3 separate regions of the Homo sapiens genome follow, and regions 1 and 3 are each linked to region 2. Evidence: promoter capture Hi-C in human tissues and cell types (Jung and others, 2019). All regions are on one chromosome and are shown on one strand. Each heading gives the region's core, a stretch centred on a gene start or on the middle of the fragment in contact. The rest is flanking DNA. Distances are from core to core; before and after follow the strand shown. Region 1 overlaps CDADC1 (cytidine and dCMP deaminase domain containing 1). Region 2 holds the start of MLNR (motilin receptor). Region 3 overlaps FNDC3A (fibronectin type III domain containing 3A).

Evidence for each region. Contacts are between HindIII fragments. The study calls those that stand out against the background at their distance.
Region 1: a contact is called between a fragment that was not itself captured here and the fragment with the promoter of MLNR in region 2, in 2 of the 25 tissues and cell types used here (heart right ventricle and mesendoderm cells).
Region 3: a contact is called between a fragment that was not itself captured here and the fragment with the promoter of MLNR in region 2, in 1 of the 25 tissues and cell types used here (mesendoderm cells).

What each region holds. Positions count from the first base shown.
Region 1 is chr13:49,254,853-49,258,335 of GRCh38, reverse strand. It overlaps CDADC1 (cytidine and dCMP deaminase domain containing 1), which reads right to left. Exons shown (of 10, transcript NM_030911.4): 3 at 2,423-2,497. Among named protein-coding and RNA genes, the nearest start is that of CDADC1, 8.7 kb to the right of the region's middle. The HindIII fragment of the contact is 3,632 bases long and covers 1-3,483 here.
Region 2 is chr13:49,218,912-49,221,915 of GRCh38, reverse strand. MLNR (motilin receptor) reads right to left here and starts at 1,578. Exons shown (of 2, transcript NM_001507.1): 1 at 678-1,578. The coding sequence starts at 1,578. RefSeq lists silencers at 1,546-1,625, 1,696-1,955, 1,892-2,148. The HindIII fragment of the contact is 10,157 bases long and covers 1-3,004 here.
Region 3 is chr13:49,183,930-49,187,139 of GRCh38, reverse strand. FNDC3A (fibronectin type III domain containing 3A) reads right to left here. Exons shown (of 26, transcript NM_001079673.2): 15 at 1,038-1,176; 16 at 1-18. Among named protein-coding and RNA genes, the nearest start is that of MLNR, 35 kb to the left of the region's middle. The HindIII fragment of the contact is 3,540 bases long and covers 1-3,147 here.

The DNA.
Region 1 (3,483 bases), core at 427-2,926, 36 kb before region 2:
TGTTACATGAGGGGAGCTTGGGCTAAGGAGAGGGTGTCCCTATTCCCCATCCCCTTCCAAAGGGATTTAACCCTATACTTATCCCCCAATACAGCATATCTGAAATCACTTTAAGGATCAGACCAAAGCGATATTAACTAGTCAAGTTTCAGTTTCGGTTTTGAGTATGAATGTTTGAGATTACGGAGAATAATTTGTAAACTATCTAAAAAAGAAGGAACAGAGAAGATTTTATGGAATTCCATTTCTGAGTTAACCAACCATCTCCTAAACTAGAAGGACATTTATAAAGGAATACAAAAATCTCTGCTTTACAAAATATGTACCTAAGGATGTATATAAAATATGAAAAACCTATCTATATTGGCTTTTAAAATAAGCTTTAAATTGACCTTGAATTTGTGAACACTTTCCCCTCCCTACCAAAATTTCTTGAGTTTTATGCTCCTCAAATGCGAAGCATATATTATTATTGATTTCTGAATACTTTCAATAAGTTTGTTTATTTATTTATTTGAGACAGAGTCTCACTCTGTCGCCCAGGCTGGACTGATTGATTGATTGATTGATTGATTTGAGACAGTCTCACTCTGTCGCCCAGGCTGGAGTGCAGTGGCACTATCTCGGCTCACTGCAAGCTCCGCCTCCCGGGTTCATGCCATTCTCCTGCCTCAGCCCGTGGAGTAGCTGAGTAGCTGCCACCACGCCCGGCTAATTTTTTGCATTTTTAGTAGAGATGGGGTTTCACCATGTTAGCCAGGATGGTCTCGATCTCTGGATCTCGTGATCCGCCCGCCTCGGCCTCCCAAAGTGCTGGGATTACAGGCGTGAGCCACCGTGCCCGGCCAATACGTATCATCTTGGAAAAGAAGTAATGCTGCCTCATCAAAAGATCTTGACAGAGCTCCTATTGTTAAATTGAACCAACGTAACCAGTGGAAGTGGCTGCAAGGGAATGATTTCAGCTTTAGATTTTCCTAGTTAAACAGACAGAAATAAAGCCAGAATAAAACATAAAAAAAAAAATTGTTCCTATCAAGTGAGAAGCACACTCATCAACTTATTTGTTATTAGAACAATCTTTTGGGTCGAGTTTATTTATCACTTTTTTGTCTAGAGTCCTTTTTACCTCAGAAAATATGTATTTTTTCATTTTGCATCTAGGTAAGGCCAAAATACCAAGTTTGAGACAAAGATTTTTCCATCCCAAACTCAATAAAACAAATAAAAGCTCAAGTTGCATTCCATTTTGGCACTTCCATTTACCACAACTCCCAGAGGACTGAATCTTTTCAGTGAATCGCTGCTCTGAATTTGATTTTGCCTCACTTCGCTAACATTTTGGCAAGTCATCTGTTTGATCCTAGTCACAGAGTTTTACACTAAAACATGGGCAAAAGGGTACAGTCTGTTTTGTATATGGACTAGTACATTGACTTAAATGGTGATTCACTATTTTTTTTCCCTTGGCCTTTCTTATTATGAAAACATGTAAATATTCTGAGACAAATTATTTCTATATTCCTACTGGGCTCACTCTCAGAATGAATTAGGAAATCTCTAGGAATATACATCGGAATCATCAAGGTAACTCTTCAAAACATACATGCTTAGTCTCCACTCTGCATCCAATGAATCGGAACCTCTGGAAAACTCAAAGGAATAAAGTAACAAGGAAATACTATACAATATTAAAAAGAACAAGGTTCATCTTTCAAGTCTGCACTTTGATTTTACCCTACTTACCAACTAATAAGTTAACCTGTTACTGTTTCATGGATATTAGCAGAAAACATGAAACTTCTGGGTTAGAAACAATGAACTTTATTATTTGCAGCACAGCAGTCAGTATGAGCATCATTTCTGTTTCCTGCCCTCAAGCCCCATGAGGGGTAATACAAATGGGCACAGATGGCTGCCTGGACACAGGGTGGGTAGTGTTATAGGAGAGGAACACTGAGCTTGAGGGTCCTACTGTTTCACAGCAGAAAGTAAGCCAGATTGCTTTTTGTCCTGGAGGGAGATATTACCTCAACCTTCAGGGTTGATCACTGCAAACACAACTCTGAGAAATGACCCAGGTAAAAAATGGTTAGGGCCTTGCATTCTTGGCATACCCAGCAAGGTGTGTGGGAGTGTGAGAGAACTAAGGGAGAGTATTTCTTAACACATCTATATGAACCATCAAGAGTTTTTTTTTTTTTAAAGCAAGATGTAGGATGTAGCATAGAATAATCCCATCTGTACTTTTTTTTTTAAAAAAAAGGAGTGACATATAGTCTTGTAAATATACAGACCATTTTTAGAAGAGTATTTTAAAAACTCCCTTGATAGTAGAAATGGAGGCACTTTTATTCTACTTTATACTATTCCTTTTGCTTTGTTATTATGAGCATATATATGTGAAATCATAAAAATTTACCTGTCTTTTGTCAGTAGATACTCTGGTCCTCTCTTCATTATCTCCTAAGGGTCCATGCTTTCCCTCTTCATTTTTCTAATAAAAATCAGATTAAGGAAAAAAAAAGATTAGCACATAAGACATATGACTAATTCAATATTCCCATATTTAAAGGCTGGCTTCCTTGGCTTTGACCATTTTTTTTTCCATGATGAAACTCTACATTGACTTCCCACTTTGTTTGGATCAAGTTCATACTACTTTACCTAGTAAATAAACCTTTATAATCTATCCCCTATGTACTTTCCCAAAACATAGAAGGATTGGAAATTGTAATGAGAAAATAAAATTCTGAAGTTTATGGTTTCAGAATTGTGGCAGTTTTGAGTAATGGAAAAGTCCAAAGTGTGGCCATGAATGACTAAAGTGGAATAGAGGTAAATTAACTGGAATTGAGAAGATAAGGAACTATGTAGCAAAGGTATTAGATCGGGATTGTGGTAGGCAGGATAATGCCCCGCCAGAGATTTCCTTGTCCCAGTCACTGGAGCCTGTGACTATGTTTTGTTACATGGCAAGGAGGAATCAGTTTGCAGCTGGAACTGAGGCACTAACCACCTACCTTGACATAGGGAGATTATCCTTGATTATCTGATTGGCCCGATGTTATCACAAGGGTCATTATGAGTAAAAGAGGGGTGTGGGAGAGTCAGCGATGCAACATGAAAGACCTGACTGGCCATTGCTGGCTTTGAAGATGGAAGGGGCCCATGAGCCAAGGAAAACAGACAATCTCCACAGGTAGAAAAGGCAAGGAAAGGTCCTCCCGTAGAGTGTCTGAAGGGAATTTGGCTCTGCCAACACTTTGATTTTAGCCCAGTAAGGCTCATTTCAGACCTCTTACCTACAGAACTGTATAATAAATTTGTGTTGTTTTAAGCCACCAACTTTGTGGTCATCTGTTATAGCAGCAATAGAAAACGAATACAGGTATATCCATGAGGGAAAAAGTGAAAACTTGAAGTAGAAAGAAAGTTTTGAGGCAGGGACCAAAGTCCTTCATTTATTAGTTCAACAAATAC
Region 2 (3,004 bases), core at 329-2,828:
TAGGCAGATCCTCACCCCAGAAAAAATGACCAGGCTGCAGGCTGCATGGATACTTGCTTTAAAACTGCATAGTAGGCTCCCATATGTGTTATCAAGGCTGGACATAAACCAGAAGGAGCAATTTCTCTGAACAAGCCGCCTTGGCAGGCTTCCTTCCACAAACCCACTTCGGAGACAAGTTTTCTGTTCTCTGTTGAAAAGAATTCTACAACAGGTCTGCACAATCTTTACTTTTTGATACGAGCAAGGTTTACTTTAGCCTTCAGCATCACTTAACATTAAATAAAAAATTTTAGCTTAATGAAATCTCCCTCGTCTTCTCAAGAGCACTGTGAGGACTCCTCATCTGTGGCATCTAACAGGTGGTTGGATTAAGAATTACCAACTCTCCTTTCTGGTCTCAGAGGCTCTGGAAAAGCACTGCTGGTTACTGAATCGGATCCGGGGATCCCACCCTCAAAGCGCCCTGGGGTCCCCCAGAGCTCCTGGGGGACAGGACATGGTTTTCTCGGGGGATGGGAAGTACCGGCGGGTGGAGGCTGGAATCGAAATAGGAAAGGGAGCTGGAAGCGGCGCCCAGAGCTGGGCGAGCAGGGGAAGGGGACCCAGCGTTTGCGCGGTCCCCGGCGGGGCGGACTGCAGGCAGGCGTCTTTGGAACCACGGCGGCTCCACTTACGCAGGACGCGGACGGTCTGCCGGTGGCCTCTCTCCCGCCCCGAGGCGGCCGGGCCTCGCAGCGGCCGCCGGCTGCTCCACAGCTCCCGCCCGATGAGCCCGTAGAGGATGCTGAGGCACAGAAAGGGCAGGAAGAAGTAGGCGGTGGTGACCCACAGCATGACACGCAGCGCGCCCAGCTGCGCGGGGCTCGGCCGGCATTCGCGGCTGAACAGCGCCGCGGCCTCCGCGGTCTCGGGCCCCGACGGCGGGGACGGCGGTGGCGCCCGCGAGAGCCAGAGAGGCGGCGACGAGGCGAGAGGCGAGGAGGCGATCCGCGCGGTGCCATTGAGGCCCGGGACTACGGAGATGCCGGGGTCCTGCTCGACGCCCACCAGGAACAAGAAGGGACCGGCAGAGAGCAGCGCCACGGCCCAGAGCACAGCGATGAGCGCGCGGACGCGGCGCCGGGTGACCAAGACGCGGGCGCGGAGCGGGCGGCAGATGGCCAGGTAGCGCTCGACGCTGAGCGCGGTCATGTGCAGCAGCGTGGCGTAGGTGCAGCCCTCGCCCACGTAGAGGGACAGGCGGCAGAGCAGCGGCCCGAACACCCAGGGCCGCGAGCGCCAGAGGCGGTACAGGTCGAACGGCAGCCCGAGCAGGATGAGTAGGTCGGACACGGCCATGCTGCCCAGGTACAAGTTGGTGGTGGTCCGCATGTCCCGGTAGCGCCCGATCAGCATCACGGTCACCACGTTGCCGCTCACCCCGACGACGAACAGGCACAGGCACACAGCGGTCACCGGCACCAGCGCCCCCAGGGGAAAGGGCGAGCAGCGGCGCTCGTCGCAAGGCGGCAGCGCGGGCCACGGCGGCTCCCGCGCCCCCTCGGGGCCGTCGCTGCCGTTCCAGGGGCTGCCCATGGGTGCTCCGCGCGGCCGCCGCGTCCCGGGTCGGGCTGGGAGCCTGGCGCGTGGTCCCTCTCGGTGAGCGCCTCCTTTCCCAGCCCGCACGCTGCGGGCGCGGCAGGTCAGACGGCGGAGCGCTGCGCTGCGCTGCGGGGCGCGAGAAGCGGCTCTGCGGGGTGGGCTCCGAGGCGCTCCCGAGCTAGCTGCGCGCAGTCTCCGCCCACGGCCGCGGCCCGCCCCGGCCCGGCCCTGCTCCGCTCCCGCGCCCTCTCCCGGGCCCATGCAGTTCCAGGGCGCTTCCCTCTCCACTAACTGGAATACCCGGCGCCCTTAGCGCACGAGCCCTACCCGGTCCGGTGAGCGATGTCTGCACCCTAGACAGCTTTGGTTACAGGACTGAGCACTGTACGGGCGCTTTTGTCAGTCTGGTACTCCGGGCACCTTCGAAGGGATCTGGTCTGGTGGCTGGTAGCTGCCGCTTGACGGTGGAGGAGGGCTCATGGTAATCCTCAGGAAGCCATAATGCTAAATAATAGGAGGGGAGTCTAGACCAGAATCTAGAGCCTCTCCTGTCTAATCCTGGCTCTACAACCGAGTAACTTGTGTAATCTTGGGCTAGTCCTGGTCTCGCCCAGCCCAGTTCTCCTCTTCTGTAAATTCGCGAGTGGTGGAGGGAGCTGACCATATAATTGACCAAATAATTTCTTTTTTTTCTTTTTTTCTTTCTTTCTTTCTTTTTTTCTTCTTGAGACAGGGTCTCACTGTCGTCCAGGCTGGAGTTTAAGTGGCGCGATCACAGCTCACTGCAGCCTCGACCTCCCAGGCTCAAGCAGTCCTCCCACCTCAGCCTCCTGAGTAGCTGGGAGCACAGGAGCGCCCAAGCCCCGGCTAAATTTTGTGTTTTTTGTGTAGTCAGGGTTTCGCCATGTTGGCCAGCCTGGTCTCGAACTCCTGACCCCAGGTGGTCCACCCGCCTCGACCTCCCAAAGTGCTGGGATTACAGGCGTGAGCCACCGCGCCCGGCAGTGACCAGATAATTTCAAGGATCCGTGAGCATGTTTACTTATTATAAAGAACAAGACAAATATTTACGTGGACACTAGAGTACTTTCACATGTGATATGTCATTCTTATGTACAACATGTTTTATAAACTTAAAAAACTAGAGGATTTGTCAACACCGGAAAGAACGAAAATTGGGGAAAGGGGCTAAAACGGATGTTCAGTCTGTTCGGTGTGGTCTTAATAACAATAGCTAACACTTACTGAGAATTTAGATGGATCTGGCCCTGTGCTCTCCATTTAATCCTCATGGCCCGGGGCGCTCCTTTCGCCCATGAACAAAGCGGTCTTGCTTGAGATCAAGCAGGCAGTAAGAGGCGGGACTGGGATATGGGCTCTGGTCGGCCTAATCCCAGAGCTTGCAAGCCTGACGTCCTAC
Region 3 (3,210 bases), core at 128-2,627, 35 kb after region 2:
CATTGTCTTTTGGTGGATCTATCCAAAGAAGCAAAGTAGTATTAGGCAAGGTACAAAACAACATAAAAATGATAAAAAAAACCTAATAAACAGAATACCAAACTAGGTTTAAAAAAAAAAAATCACCTGCAATGACTTAATACCAGTACCCAATTACTCCATGCTGTTGTCATCTGCTTTTCACTTAATTTACCATATTTAAAATATGGCTCTCTATAACAATTTTTAATGGCTGCATGATATTCCATTTACTTATTTTTATTTATTTTTTTTAGATGGAGTCTCACTCTGTTGCCCAGGCTGGAATGCAATGGTACAATCTCGACTCACTGCAACCTCTGCCTCCTGGGTTCAAGCGATTCTCCTGCTTCAGCCTCCTGAGTAGCTGGGACTACAGGCATGTGCCACCATGCCCAGCTAATTTTTGTAGTTTTAGTAGAGACGGGGTTTCACCATGTTGGCCAGGCTGGTCTCGAACTCCTGACCTCATGTGATCTGCCCGCCTGGGCCTCCCAAAGTGTTGGGATTACAGGCGTAAGCCACCATGCCCAGCCTCCATTTACTTTAGATGTTAAGGTTGTTTGAAATTTTTGAATATTATAAATATCACTGAAGCATTTTTATTGGTCTGAATTTTTCAGGCAAGGGTCAAGTTTATGGGATCTTTGTTTTTCCATTAGGTATGTAGGTAGGTGCTCGATAAATGTTTGTTTTAAATGAATGGTTTTCATTTCTTACGAGAGCCAGATGACCCAGGTGACTTTAGCTGCAAGTTCAGTAATCCTTCATTTCACAGTGCTACCCCTGCTCATTATCTTACAGTGGATCGCAAGTTCCTTTTTATCATATCTTAACCTAGCATGTATGAGAGTATAAGGTTTTCCACAAAAAACATACCCAATGAATGACTCTCACATTTCTTTTTGGACTGGCTTGAGATAACAAATTTACTCAAATATCTTAAAAATTATCTTCATATTCAAATTATTTTAATCAAACGCAAAAGTAATAATGTATAAACATGCATAATATCTTACCCCAGGTTATTTTAAAACTGTGTGAATGTATCTTTCCTTTCACTGAAGGCTTTACAGGTATGCCTGGTTTATCAGGGCAAGTAGTAAATTCTACTACTTCACTTGGATTACTTTTACCTTCTGAGTTGTAAGCAATAACCTGTGATGAGAACAGAAAGACATTAAATAATACACTTGATACCTAATGATACTGGCTTAATAAACAAAGTGATAGGAGACAAACAGCTTCAACCAAATGATAAAATACATTTTTTTTAGCTTGGAATGGCTTGTTCTTTGAGAATTGCTTGTCTCCAATAGATACTTGGCATATATGAAGAGTATGCAACTGTACTTCCCCTTTTAGAGTCCGTCCTGGGAATACAAGTGTAAAACCTAATATTTTGATACTAAATAAGAATCAGAGGAACAAGCTATAATCTGGTGATTCTTCATGGGCTTTAGGCTTGCTTTGTTTCTTCTTTTAACATTCTTTGTGAGTTTAGAAAGAGGTCCACACATTCTCTGAATCTCCTTTCTTCAAAAGGTGAAGTCTAATCCCCCTTCCCTTGTGTGTGTGTTATACTTAATGACTCACTCTAACAAACAGAATACAGCAGAAATGACGGTGTGTGTAACTTCCCTATGGAAAAACTCATGTGGTGAGGAACTGAGGGTTCCTGGAGACAACCATGTGAGTGAACCTGAAAGTGAGTGAAGTCCCAGGAGAGCCTTGAGATGACTGCAACCCCAGTTGACATCTTGATTACAACCTCATAGAGACCCTGCATCAGAATTACCCAGTTAAGCTGGTTCTCAATTCCTGACCCACAGAAACTATAAGTTTGTTTTTTCAAGCTGCTAAATTTTGGGATAATTTGTTATAAAGCAATAGAGAAATATAATTCCAATCTAGGTATTTTTCTATTATAGAAATTTAACTATACCTGTATTGTTACATTTTCTCCTCTACTGAACTTAAAGATCCTCAAGTCCAATATCAAACCATGATTTTTTCTTCTCTAAACCTGCCCCTCTTTTTCTCTCCCCACAGTAAAAAGCTCTACCATCTACCTAGTTGCTCAAGTCAAAAGTGTTAGAGACAAACTGCCCCAAAAAATCTTGGTACTGCTGACGCTCCCCTCAAACCTCTCCATGCTGCCCACCCCCCTCCCCCTTATGCTCTGCAACTCTTCTCTGTGCTGCCCACCTTTCCCTCTGAGCCCCTTTACATTTCTAAGCCCTTATCTAGGTGCCACAATGAAGCCAGCAGACTTCACCTATCAGGCCTTGCTGTGATAAGCAAATCCCAATTACAGGCCATTGGGACCGCACAGGGGGAGGTCGTGGGAAGCACAAACAAGCTTTACCTACACCTACCTGTAAGTTCCTTCATTTAGCTGCTACCACAAATGTCACAAGGTGATATATGATAAAGTTAACCAACAAACGACCCCAGGGTCTCTCTCCCCAATATAAACCCCTCATTTTATAAGCTCAGGGCTTCCTCCTCTGTCTGTAGTGGAGCAGCCGGCAGGTTCAATAAACTTACTCGGCTGACTTTGGGTCTATTCTTCCTCTCGGTTGACCTTACAAAAAGGAGACATCCTTGATTCTTCTCTAAACCGCATCCAATCTCTTACTATATCTGGTTAACTTTACCTCCACTTCACTGTTCTACAACTACGACCACTTTAATGAAAGCCTCCTTTCTCCTATCTTTCCTGAGTGACTGTAATTATACCACTAGCTAGTTTCCCAGTGTACATTCTTGCCCTTGACCCCCAACTACTTTCTACACCGAAGCCAGAGGGACTTTTTATCACTGCTTAGCTCAGAACCCTCTAATGGCTTCCCATCTTACTCAAAATAAAATCTAAATTCCACACCATGCCTACAAGGCCCTATGTGATTTCATCCTTAACTACCTCTTGAAACTCCACTGTAGGGTCTTTGTGCTAGCAGTTATTTCCTCACTTGGAATGTTTTTCTGATTTTGACATGTTACTTCCTTGTTACTCAGATCTGTTTAAATGTCATTTCCAAGAAGACTTCCTTAACTACCCAGTCATTCTCTCTTACCCCATTCTATTTTAATTAACCTGCATTGCACTTACCACAATCTATTTGTTTGCTTATTTATTGTCCACTCCCCTCATCAGAATATCTGTTGTAGTCTTAGTGTTTAGAACAA